Regions from separate parts of the Homo sapiens genome. Here region 1 is linked to region 2. Evidence: promoter capture Hi-C in 16 types of primary human blood cells and fetal thymus (Javierre and others, 2016). All regions are on one chromosome and are shown on one strand. Each heading gives the region's core, a stretch centred on a gene start or on the middle of the fragment in contact. The rest is flanking DNA. Distances are from core to core; before and after follow the strand shown. Region 1 overlaps PDE4B (phosphodiesterase 4B). Region 2 holds the start of PDE4B (phosphodiesterase 4B).

The links. Contacts are between HindIII fragments. The CHiCAGO score rates a contact against its expected background, and 5 or more counts as called.
Region 1: a contact is called between a fragment that was not itself captured here and the fragment with the promoter of PDE4B in region 2, in 1 of 17 cell types (M1 macrophages). The highest score is 5.7, in M1 macrophages.

What each region holds. Positions count from the first base shown.
Region 1 is chr1:66,245,142-66,251,099 of GRCh38, reverse strand. It overlaps PDE4B (phosphodiesterase 4B), which reads right to left. Exons shown (of 17, transcript NM_002600.4): 4 at 3,446-3,640. Among named protein-coding and RNA genes, the nearest start is that of PDE4B-AS1, 200 kb to the right of the region's middle. The HindIII fragment of the contact is 986 bases long and covers 3,643-4,628 here.
Region 2 is chr1:65,789,331-65,795,749 of GRCh38, reverse strand. PDE4B (phosphodiesterase 4B) reads right to left here and starts at 2,855. Exons shown (of 17, transcript NM_002600.4): 1 at 2,502-2,855. The HindIII fragment of the contact is 11,219 bases long and covers 1-5,904 here.

The DNA.
Region 1 (5,958 bases), core at 2,886-5,385, 450 kb before region 2:
GTAAGTGTGATGGTGTAAGTCTAACTCAAGTCTTAGAAACCACACTGCACTTTTTGCTAGTCCATCAATAAACAGGTTTTAAATTTAAGTGGATTATTATTTCTGCTTTTCCTCTTGGTTCTTAGGTCTCATTTCCCTTGAAAATGAGTAGGCTCTCTCTAGAGACTACTTAGTCCACACGTAAATGGTGGCTTTCAAAAGCTTCTTGTCTGTGTAAGGCTTTGCAAAATGGGATGACCAAATGAAAAAAAACATGGAGTTTCCTTTCCTGTGGCTTTGCAGGTGGATAATCAAAACTCCATTCTGTCCATGGTGGTTCCTGCCACAGTTTTCAGCAGTAAAACTGGCCTTACTAGTTTCCAGTACTTTATGTTCCCATGAGGCAATCTGTACCTCAGTATACGAAGGCATTACGTTTGGGATGACTACAACACAGGAACTGAACAGAAACCAGCAAACTATTGCCACATCTAGGAAAGCATCTGAAATTGCCTTTTGGGACCCAATGGTGATCTTGCTTTACTTCACTATAAAGCCTTATTCTGATCCTCTCCTTTGTTGCTCAAAGTTAAAGCTACTTTTAATTTTTCTTGTTCACATTTTTACTCTTAATATCTTTTCACTCACTCTCCCCTGACTATAATTTTCTGTTACTCTTCTGAAAAAATTCAGATGAGAAAAATTTAAAAGCTAGTGTTTCCTTTATTACTAGGATTTAATGCAGTAGAATTATGCAAAGTTTTCCACCATTCATAAAAAATTCATGACAGCTCTGTGCTGGGTATGAGGTCTGTGAGCAGGGAACATCCGGCAGCCCCCACCCAGTGGCCTTCACATCTAGACTCTTGGTCTATTAGCACCCTTCTTGCTTCCTGGATCTATGGGTAGAAGGCAAAAAAAGGGGCGGGAAGTGTGGGGAGCTGCTGTTCCTCTGTTTCGATTCATCTTAAAGAGTTAATAATCATATGAAATAGCTTTAAGAGCATTACTTTAGTTCAGATTCAGATATTTATGTGAAACTGGATTTGCCAACTTAAAACTAAATTACTAGAAGAAGCTTAATATTATTCAAACTCTACTTCTCAGCGTGTTGTGAAATATAATTCCAAAACTGACAAATATATAAAAGTTTTTTTCTGTGGTACTGAAATATTTGGAAAACAAAATCTTGTGCTATTTTCATTCACACAAAGATTTTAATATATCCTGTTATCAGTATTTTTGATAGGGTGGTATTATGTTGCCAACCTTGTTTTCTTGGGAAAGGCTGCTTTTTATTATGAAATTGTGCCCATACTACTTTTTATCTAAGTCCTTATCTTTAAAAAGTGAGAATGATATTAAATAATTTACATATATAATTTTTACTTGCCTAAATTTAAAGTTGGAAAATTTAGGTTCTAAAGTTACTGGGGGCAGGGGGTGGGGCGGGTGGTGGGGAATTTTACTGGCCAGTAAAATTGAAAGGACAGTAAACTACCAGTAACAGGGATGCTGGATGCGGTGTCATTTAGAACTACACCTCTTTTTTGACTGCCGTAGATTCAGTTGGATTGTGATCTTTAAGGTCTCTTCAAATTTAACATTTCTACAACCTTTTGATTCCAAATAATGAAACACAAGATTTAATCTGGAAGTGCAGTAGAGTTTTCTGGGGCGACTCTGAATGACCTTGAGATTCTTCCTGCCGTTTGGCTTGAGTCTGGAGAGCTCTTAGCCAGGGAATTAGTTTTTGGGGAATGACAAGATTTCAAAGCTAATCTTGCACCTGTAAAATACTATGTGAATTAAGCTCTAATTACTTTGAGCTCACCACATGACCTACGGTCTTCCATGATGAAGCCTAGAAAGGTGTTTATCTTGGTGAAGGAAAGAATTCCCAATATCTTTGCATTCAAAGACCCCCATTCAAACTTTTGTCAGAAATGCCTTGGGTTCTACAAGATCTACAGCAAAGTTGCTGGCTACCTACCTCTCCTGCAGCCTTGGACACCTCTACTCTGCAGTCATTTGTTTTCTACCTAGTGGTAGAGATGCCACTTTGCAATTTGAAGAACATGGATGGAAAGATTCCAAAAGTTTTTAATATGGTCAGGCTTAGCCACATCATGGGACACAGCATGATACACAGTCATGGGATAGGGGCAAGTTTCTCAATCTCTCAGAGTCCCAGTTTCATCATCTATGGAGTGGGGATAATAAAGACACCTACCTGACAGATTAACAGAGATAACATAAGAACATGAGCTCGGCTCCATGGGAAGTGCTCATTAAATGTTATTTCCTTTCACTCTGTTATGTTTGTATGTGTGTGTTCCTCTTATCTTTCTTATTTAGCTGTAACCTCCCTGACAGCATGCACATTTTTTGAGAATGAGATATGCTTTTAACTCATCTGTGATTTTTACACTGTTTTGTTTGTCTTTTATCACCAGAGATTGACACAATGTGTGGCACAAAGGAGAGAATCAGTAAATTTTGCCAAATGACTGAAAAATGAATTTGGGCCCACACAATGATTGAGATATTTTAGGGCAGGGGTGCGTCTATTAAAATGTGCTGGCAGAAATGCCTCAAGGAATATTTTTTTGCTGGTAGCTTCAAAATTCCCCCTTTCACCAGAGGGTGAAATTTTTGACTTCCCTTCCAATAGCAGAAGAGAACAGAGTGGAATTTTCCAAACTGGAGACCTTAGGGAGCTACTGATACTTTTATGACATATAATATAAAAACAATTGTATCTGTGCCCAGAAACCTTTTAAGGCATGAATTCCAGAATCCAATTTTATTTGGTTTTGGAAATTTAATAAATGGGTGACACAACCTAGATCTTGTTCTTTAAATAAAATTTAGAGATTTACAATTAATAGCGGCAAAACAAAAATATCAGCAGTGCTTTACAGGGCGGTGGAGTGTGTTGTGTCTCACCAAGGAGCCAGGCAACAAGTGGGCATTGTGTTAAAGTTTCAGAGAAGGGACACAGGCATGTGTCTGAATGACATCTTATTAAAGTCACCAAGCAAAGGCTACTGAGACAGCATGCATATAACCAATCACCATTTTTCCTCTTTGCTGGAGCCTCATGAAAACTGCACACACAGCTGAAATTTCAAGTGTGATGTATAAAAAGTGTTAAGGTTCTCATGCCATAAATGACTCAACAGTTCAGGAAATGAAGCAAAATAATTTTTTTAAGGTATCAGTAAAAGATGTAAAGTAAACACTGTGTCTAGGTTTTCCAAAACCCTTGGAGACCCCAGCTACATATTCCGCATGCTATAGAGCATTAATGTCCTTAAAATGGTCATCACGTCACCCCTGCTCATATTCATTTTCTTCCTTCATCCTTACCATAGATTAATGGGGAATTGTTGTTGCTGCCACTGTGACCTGGGTAGAGATGAGGTAAATGTGAAACTGGAAGCCAGACAGAGCTTGTACTTACTGCTCGCTTGGAAGAGAAGAGTTTCTCGACATCGCCTTTGGTGACAAGTCATAGTCGCTGTCTGATCTGTAGAGAAATGACTCTCTGCGCTGGCTGTGCCCAGGAAAGGTGGCGTGAAGTACCAGCCCAGCGGAAGAGCTGGCCTGGGGATCCAGTGGACTCCGACCTGGGGAAGGGCCATTTTCCACATCAAAGCTTAAAGAGAAAGTGGGAAACTCTGGTCACATGATAACCATGGAGGAGGACACATAGTATACACTGAGAACCAACGTGTGGCAGGTACTATACACTAAGCATTTTACATAAAACTGTATGTACTATGGAAAGTTTTCATCCTCAACACAGCTTAGAGTTGCAGTCATTATTATTTTCATGTTATGTATAGGAAACTGAGTCGCACTGAAGTTCAGTTATTTACCCATGCCCACCATTAGCAAATAATGGAGCCAGAATTTGAACCCAGGAGCAAACTCCATGGCCTTTCAGTGACATGAGTAACTTGGACAAATTCGGCGTTGGTGCCAGGCATACAACAACTTGGTGATAATAAGCAACTTTAGAGGGGGCATTCAGCACAGCTCTAGGTGTCAGACCCTGAACTATCACATGAGTAAAGTCTTCCTGTCTGGAAGACTTCTTCCTGTCATGAATAAATATCACAGTCTCATTAAATATACAATACACGTATTTCTAAATGTTTCAGGAACAAAGTGTTATCCTGACAACCTCCACTGGGTTATTAGATGGGAGGCCCAGCCTGAGATTTAATATTCATCTGCAAATTTAACCACAGAAAATGACTTAATTAATCTGCTAACACCAAATTACTCTCCAAGGCTGCAGAGCTTTGTCTCTGGGGGAGGATGCATTCACTGGCTCCCACAGAGGAGTGTCATGAGGTTTCCTATCGGTCTTCGTCACTCTAGAAAGGTGCCCTCAAGCCCAGAATTATTTGAACATGCTCTGATCAATGAACACACAGACGGGAGCAGTAGAGATTTTGTCTCTTGTTTTCTGTATCCACGCTCCTGGTATTTCCCTGGGCACTGTGCCCTTTTCACATTCTCCTTTATCATTACATATGCATTTTTTCCTGCACACACAATCTCTCTTAGCCTCAAATTGACAGTAATCCTCTTCCCTAGTATTTCTCCAGAACTCTCACTGCTCCCCAGCTAAAGCTTTGCAGAGAGATGGTGAACAAAAGATATGGGGCTGAGGATGCTCCTTTTTTCAAATTAGACCACAACAGTGAATTTCCTGTATACCAATTCAGCGGCCATGATTTATGTCTACATTCTTGGTTCTTTCCTTTCACTAGTTCTTACAACCAGCTCACTTTGGGTGGATTTTGCTTATATTTCTTCACTTTACAAAGTGCTTCCCAATACATTATTCCATTTACTCCTAACAACCCTGTGAAGTATATAAAATGATCCTACTCTACATTTGAGGTAAATGAGGCTTAGCAAGATGTAAATACCTTTCTCAGAGTCATAGGCTAGTAACTTGCAGAGCAGAATTGGAAGACTCATGTCTTGCAACTAATTTCTTTACAACCTCAGACTTTCCTAATGACAGAACTCCAGAATGGCCCAATAGATAACTGAGTGAAATTCCTCTTTAGTCTCTGAATTCAACCAAAAGTAATTTGGTACATAAAGAGCCAGTTAGACTATAAGCAACCTTGGCTGCTCTCTTGAATGAAAACGGGGAGGCAGCAAATTACCCTGAAGCTGTAGGTTTCCTTGAAACATGAGGAGAAGAAATGACAGAAGGCAGGGTTATAAGGCTTCCCCAGAGACCATTCACAGAAGCTGCTTTTAGACAACCCACAAACTCCAGGTGTCTGATAAGAAGCAGAAAATGATAATGTCTGGGTAAAAGGCCAAAGAAAAGCTATAACAATCCAATATGTTTGGTCTTTCAAGGTACTGTAGATGAATTTTCTCAGTAGGCTAATGGTCTGGGATGGGGCTGCCTTTCAAAGACTGCAGGCAGACAGGCAGGTGGACAATCACTCATACTAGCAGCCTGCTTGCCAGCCTGCCTGGAGGCAGAGCTACGTTGTTAGCCACATACATTGCAGCAAGCAAAAATATAATAAAGCGACTTGCAAACTTCCCTTGGGTGAGATCTATCGTAGTTGAGCAAAATAAAAAGCCCCTCTGTGGATAAGGGCTTTTTTGTGTGCCACCCAAACCCCTAGAAACAGTAGGTCATGGGCTCTGAACTATTTTTAAGGGCAAAGTAGGTAGGTTCTTAAAAAGTGAAGAGGGGATTACACAAAACTTAATGGTGGGCATGAGTTTAGAAATTTCATGTATTTATGTTGTTATTCATCTGGTATGTATCTGTGCAACCTTTCTGGATATTAAAACACTAACATACTTTTAAAACTGTTAGCATCCATCCACTGCCCCAGGCCCTCCAGGGTCAGCTGGACTTCTTGGTGATCCAGTAACTAAAGGATTGGTGTCTGGAAGCACTGTGCCTGTGTCCATTAATTCATC
Region 2 (6,419 bases), core at 1,606-4,105:
CTGCAATGCAAGCCCTCAGGGAGCTCCAGAGCTAGAAAGATCCTTCAGAGTTTTCCAGAGTTGTGCTGCAATGGCCCAACCTTTATACTCCCACATGGATCAGCCATTGGATGTGAGCTGCGCTGGAAAGGGGTGTGACCTTGGACAAGGGAGCTTTCTACAGCTCAGGCAATCCCTGAAGAGTCTGACTATTGAAGGCCATCTGTTGACCACACTCCCAGAAGCTGGGGCAACAAGTCCCTCCTTGAAGAACGATTTGGCACATCACAGTGTCCACTGTATTACCACATGGTGGCTACAATAGCCAGTGCCTGAAGGAACTCATTTGTTTTGTGGTCAGCAACATCCTAAACCTTGTCCAAACTATGCTGTTTGAAGGTTTTTGGAAATAGAAATGGGTGAAATTGTATGACATGATAATAAATTACTAACCACCAAATCTTTCTAACTGAAGACCTCTTCATATACCTCTTGCTCCTTAGCCAAATTAAGTCAAGTAAGATATTAGGAGTAACCTAGAACTCTTTATTTCTTCACAATTTTAAATATTGCATTTGTAAACCAAAATGGAATTATTATTTCTGTGTCCAGTATCTTTATCAAACAAGCCTTTATTTGTACATACACAGTAACTATTACTGTTAAATACTTAAATACCTGTCTCTAGACAGGCAAAGGACTCCAAGATCAGAAAACCATGTATGATTGATTTCTTATTCCTCAAATCAAAAAACAGTCCTATTTTGAAAGCAAACAGTATGTCTAACAGGTTACTCTCTAGAGAAATTTAAGACAATTCATTTTTGCAAAATATGTCAAGCCATAAAGAAACTGAAAAGCAAATCAGCTGATAAAAATACAAGTAGACACACTGCAACATTGTTTAGCTCCCAACTGTAACAAGAAAAATAGAAAGATGATAGATATATAGATAAACAGCCTCAATGCATCGATCATGCCATCTCATAAATTCCAGTCCATTTAACAATCTTACTTATTTTTTGTAAATTAACAAAATTGGCACGTTGTTGTTTAGAAAATGAAAAAGAATAGAAACAGCCAGCAAACATATTACAGTCAAGTCCTACAAGTATTGATTTGAAGAGCTGAAGAGACCAATGCTATATTTATTGACATTAAGGGGATTTCTCTCTTGGGATACCAAGAAATGAGGTATCCTGAGAGAGAAGAAGCTCAACTTCCTTTACCTGCAGTGAAATCATTGGCCTTATCTATCTTCTTGTGAATTCATGTACAGATAAATTCTAGACCCCTACCTACACTTCAGGTTGTAGGTAAAAACACTGAAATCTCCAAATTTGTTTCGTTTTTATGAATATAATTGGTATAATAACAGCTTTTGGCAAAAGGAAACGGAGGGGGAGTATGATCTACTAATAAAAATAGTATCTGGACATTTATTACTTTTTTTATGCTTAATGTGCCTTTCATTCTTATAACTTAGCCAAGAGTTTTCCAGCAGCTGGAAATCTTTGAAATTAAACGATGCATGTGATTCAAAGAACAGTTATATCTCAGATCTAAGATGCAGAATGCATAGAGTTACCATTTCTGTTCAGTGGCATCATATAATTATGATGTAAACCTAATGTAAGTACAATGTAATTTTAGGTGACCGTCTCAAAGTCTTGCTAAAAATTATCCCAGGCACGTGTGTGACACACACAGACACACACACACACATATATAACTACTGTAATTAAGAGCGATTCTTCTGTGCGCTCCTCCTTATACACGCTTTAAAGCTGTTGGCCATAGTGGGTTCCGATTTGTGTTTGAAGTACCGCACAAGGAAGGTGGCCTGTGAAAAACGGGAAGGAAGGAGGCAAAACAGGAAGATGGAAGAAGAGAGTAGGCATGAAGGAAAGTGACAGGAGAAAGGAGGAGAGCCTCTTCCTTCCCCAACACACTCTTGTAGCTAGAAAGGTCCAAGCCCCCTCACCAAACACCAGACAAATCTTCCCAAAAGTTCCTGGCAGAGCCTTGGTGATGCCGAGGCTTGAGTGCGCCCCTCCTTGGTGCCCCAGCCACCAGGGCACGCAGGAGCATCCTGGAGCCTCAGCCCAGCAAACTCTTGGGTAGTTCAGGTTCCCTTCCGCGCCCGCTGCCTGCAGTCAATCACTGGGCACCGCGCGCCCATCCGTCACCTACTCCAGGGCTTCCAAGCCCTGAATCCTTCTGCCTCTCTCCATTCTCCCTTAGCCTCTCTCCATCCTCTCCTCCCCAGTGACTTGTCAAGAGGTCCAAGGGCGGAAGCCGAAGCAGAGAAGATGAGGGCGAAAGGCTAGGGGCCGGTTGGCGGATTTCCTACAAGGGGCGACAATGACGCCGTCAAGACGACCATCCAGGCCCGGCGGCCCCATTCCCTCTTTGCCCCACATCAGCCCCACAGCACCCTACACTCTCCATTGAGGCTTCAGTGTGTGATGAAGTAAGAGAATGAGGAAAAATAAACCCGCAGCCTCCTAGGCAGCCCTTACCTCAGGCTGCCCTCGCAGAAGCCGCCCTCCTCCTGCCCGAGGCGCCTCTGCTGCACCGCCGCGGCCGCAGCGCTCTGGACGCCGGGGCTCCGCCCGGCGCGGGTAGACCATGCGCTGCGAGTGAGCCTTCCGCGCTCCCGGGGGTGGGGGACGAAAGTCTGCCCGGAGGGCGCTCGCGTGCAGCCCGGCCCGCGACGAAGAGCCTGCAGCCGCTGAGGCGAGGCCAGGAGCCCCGGGAAGGGGCGCGCGGGCCGGGGGCGCGCGCGCGGACGGGCCAGCGGGCTAGCCTGGGGAACCCGCGCCAGGGAGACACAGGCGCTGGCGACGCGCCCCTCAGCTCTTCTCTCGTCCTCTGGCCCTTTAAACCCCCTCTCCCTACTGTCCACCCCCGCCCCCCGGAAGAGAGACAGCTCGCCGGTGCCACTTGGTCTGCCGCGCTGCGCTCCTCAGCCGGGTGCGGGGAATAACAATGTGACCGTATCGCACGGACGAGATGCTGTGTAGTAGGTTGTAACTGCTGAGGCCACCACCTGTCAATTCTAGGGTGCAAAGCACGCCGTCCCCAGTCGTCTGGCCTCTCCCTGATTGCCCTCCCAGGTTATTTTTTCCCCCACCTACCTCACAGACCTCCTGCAATATTCCGCGGGCACGGTACCAGGGGAGTTTTGCAAAATAACCCTCTCTCCCAGCCGGGAGCTCACTGCATCTCCCTTACCACCAGAGCTGAAGGATTACGCACAGCCCTGCGTGCCTATCCAAAGCCAGAGACCGAAAATCCTGGTTTGAACCCCACACTCGCCGGCCCCCCAGCCCCCATTCATAATCCCAGCGGCCGTCTGCCACTACACACCCTCCCCCGGCCGCCCGCGCTCTTTCCCATTCGCCGTCCCTGGAACGTGTCAGTCACTCGCTGTGCATCTGCCATGAATACAAGACGAAGAGCTCTGCAGCTACTGGCTGCACAAAGAGGGACTGGGGCGCAGGGGACGCAGACCCCCGGGTTGGGGGAGGCGAGAGAGCCAGCGGGGCACATTACGTGGAAGGAGCCAGTGGGACCGTGGGAGTCCTCTGGTCTCCTGTTGCACAAAGGAGCGCCAGAGTGAATACGCGCAGTGCTCCTGAACCAACAGGTCAGATCACCTCCCAAGAGGTGCTCCACCAAGACACCCCTGAAGGTGAGTCCCACAACTTGGGAATTCGTGTGATGGAGCAACAGGCACTCAGTAACCTGACTGAGCCTGCTTTAAAAATGCAACAGGATGGAGAGAGAGCGAGAGCGAGAGCGAGAGAGAGAGAGAGAGAGAGAGAGAGAGAGTGTGTGTGTGTGTGTGTGTAGAGTGGGAGAGGTATGCTGGAAAGCACAAGTTTCCTTTTCCCCGGTTGTCCAGCCCTTTCAGTCAGAGAAAAAAAGAAGGAAGCTGGCAAGGAAAAGAGGAGGAAGATAGGCATGAAGTAACTTTGCCTATCCAACTACTACAGTAGCTAGAGACCAAAATGACTTTAATAGACAACATTCGCCTGTTTCTCGATTTATTCCAATAAACATCATGCACACCTACTGTGCACTGAGCACTTTGCAGAAGCTAAGGATGCAGAGTCGATTAGGACATAGTCTCTGCACCCAAGGAGCTCACTGCCTAATAGGAGAACCAACTATGAAAGCCCGAGACAAACAACACAAGTATTTCACAACAGAAGCACATGCCAATTGCATAAGTGGAAGCAATTTTTTCTATGTAAGAGAAGGAACAGGTCAGGGAATTTAAATCCCATCTGAACTGTGTATTAAAGGACAAATAGGGACCTCCCAAAGAAGGGCAATAACCTAATAACCTACTATTCACCCATTCACCCAAAATAGCTTTACATGCCTGTACATTGAAAGGCATGTCTAAGAGCTTATCAGTGTAGGAACTTAATGAACTTTCCCCTTCATGGTTTTGGAGGAAACATATTCAAACACTAGCGTTTGGAGTATAAAACACCTATTTCCCCACATCTGAGATGCTACCAAGTGTTCGCTGGTTATTCTGCCTTTTTGGACCTGTTGCTTACACTATACCATCTACCTCATCCATAACCTTGAAATTGAGCCCAAAGCCAAAATTAATAATAGTGAGGCAATAAGCACCTGAAAGGAAGCCAACAAAATCCGCAATGTAGTCATTGTTCTCACAGTTTTCATCTGTAAAATGATGATAATGGAATCTCTTTTTCTGAACTACAGTTAGGATTAGTTAGATGTATTAAATATAAGGCAACCATTGCCTAAAGAGAGTGTAAGGAATCTAAATTGTAGTTCAATCTAGGGGAAAAAAAGAACCAATTTGAGCATCATGCTGCCCCTTTTTGAATATGAGAAATTTGAAAGGTATTAATAATTACTAAGCCTCCCAAGGTTATTACATCATCTTCAGAAAAATGTGTCCAAAGAGTTCTTACTGCAAAAAGAATTATATACGGATTCCAGTAGAAAATGATGTCAGCTTTTTAAGCATCTTTCTCATCTCTTTCTAAAAATTACATAAACTAACAAAGAGAATGGAAAAAAACTGTCAAACACCATTTTCAACAAATTTATATAGATTTTACCTACAAACCCCAAAGCGCTTCTAAAGGTTACCAAAAGCAGCTGAGTTTGGGCAGAAGTCATATGGAAAAGGCCCAGGGAGAGGCAATGGGAACCAGCACTAGAAGTATCAGAAAGTGCCAGCAAAAGTATGTTTTCTGGGAAATGAGAGGTGTGTCGTAAAATGCAAAGCTGTCTCTCAAAAACTGGAGCAGAAGCAGAAGGAAGAAGGCAAAAGAGATACATACATACAGATGACAAAAGGAGAACAGGGAGTTCCCAGAAACATGGTAGGAGCAGATCTCAGGGTCAGCAAAACTTTAGTGCTTGAAGATGGTCAAATCACTATGAAATGTAAAAGTCCTGTTCCTTCTTTTTAAGAACTGGGGAGCAGAGAACTACTGGAAAAGGATCTTCTGGACATAATTCCCTTCAGAGTCTCAGAGGAAGTGAGTATACAAAGATGCCATAACTACTAAAAGCAGTCTGTTTGTGAGGCAACAGTAAAAGTGAATCCATAATCTATTGCTGCATAACAAGCCACCCGAAACAATGGTTTAAAAAGCTACCAGTGATTTGCCTACAATTTAGTGAGATGGAAAATTGGGATGGGCTCAGCTGTGTGGGCTCAATGGCTAATCTCTGCCCCATGCGGTATCAGCAGGTCTTACTCACAAATCTGGGCCTCTGGAAGGGATGGCTTGGACACCTAGGGCCTTTTCCCAGGAAGCTAGTCAGGCTTTTTCACATGGAGGTAGACATGTTCCCAGTAGCAAGAGAAATGGCAGCCTAGTGTTCATGCTGTAGTGTTCACACACTTTCAAGTTTCAAGCTTCTGTATGTGTTGTGTTTGTTAATGTCCCGTTGGCTAAAGCAAGTCATGTAGCTAAGTCCAGAGTCAATGTGGGAGTATTTTATGGGCATGGGTAGAGGGAGGTGTCAATTATTGGGGATCATTAAGTGGGAGCTATTTGTTTTGAGAACAGGAAAGCCACTTTGCAACCTCCACTTCAGGAACTTTCTCTAAGGAATTTGACCAGAAAAATAATTCATTCAATAGTGAGCAGTGATAAAGAAGAAACTGGCATAACACAGATACAGACATACTATTTTTAAAATTCAGAAAATTAGCATCAAAACTTTTTAATAGATGAGAGGAAAAAGTGTTGTCACAGAGACAATTAAAATTGTGACTATAAATTTCGAAATGCAAGAAAAAAACTAATAATACTTTAGCATAGTATTTACTGTTGCCAGGCAATATTCTTACCACTTTGTAGAGATATGAACTCAACTGATTCTCAACACAACTCTGTAAATTAGATATTGTTATTATTATTACCATTATA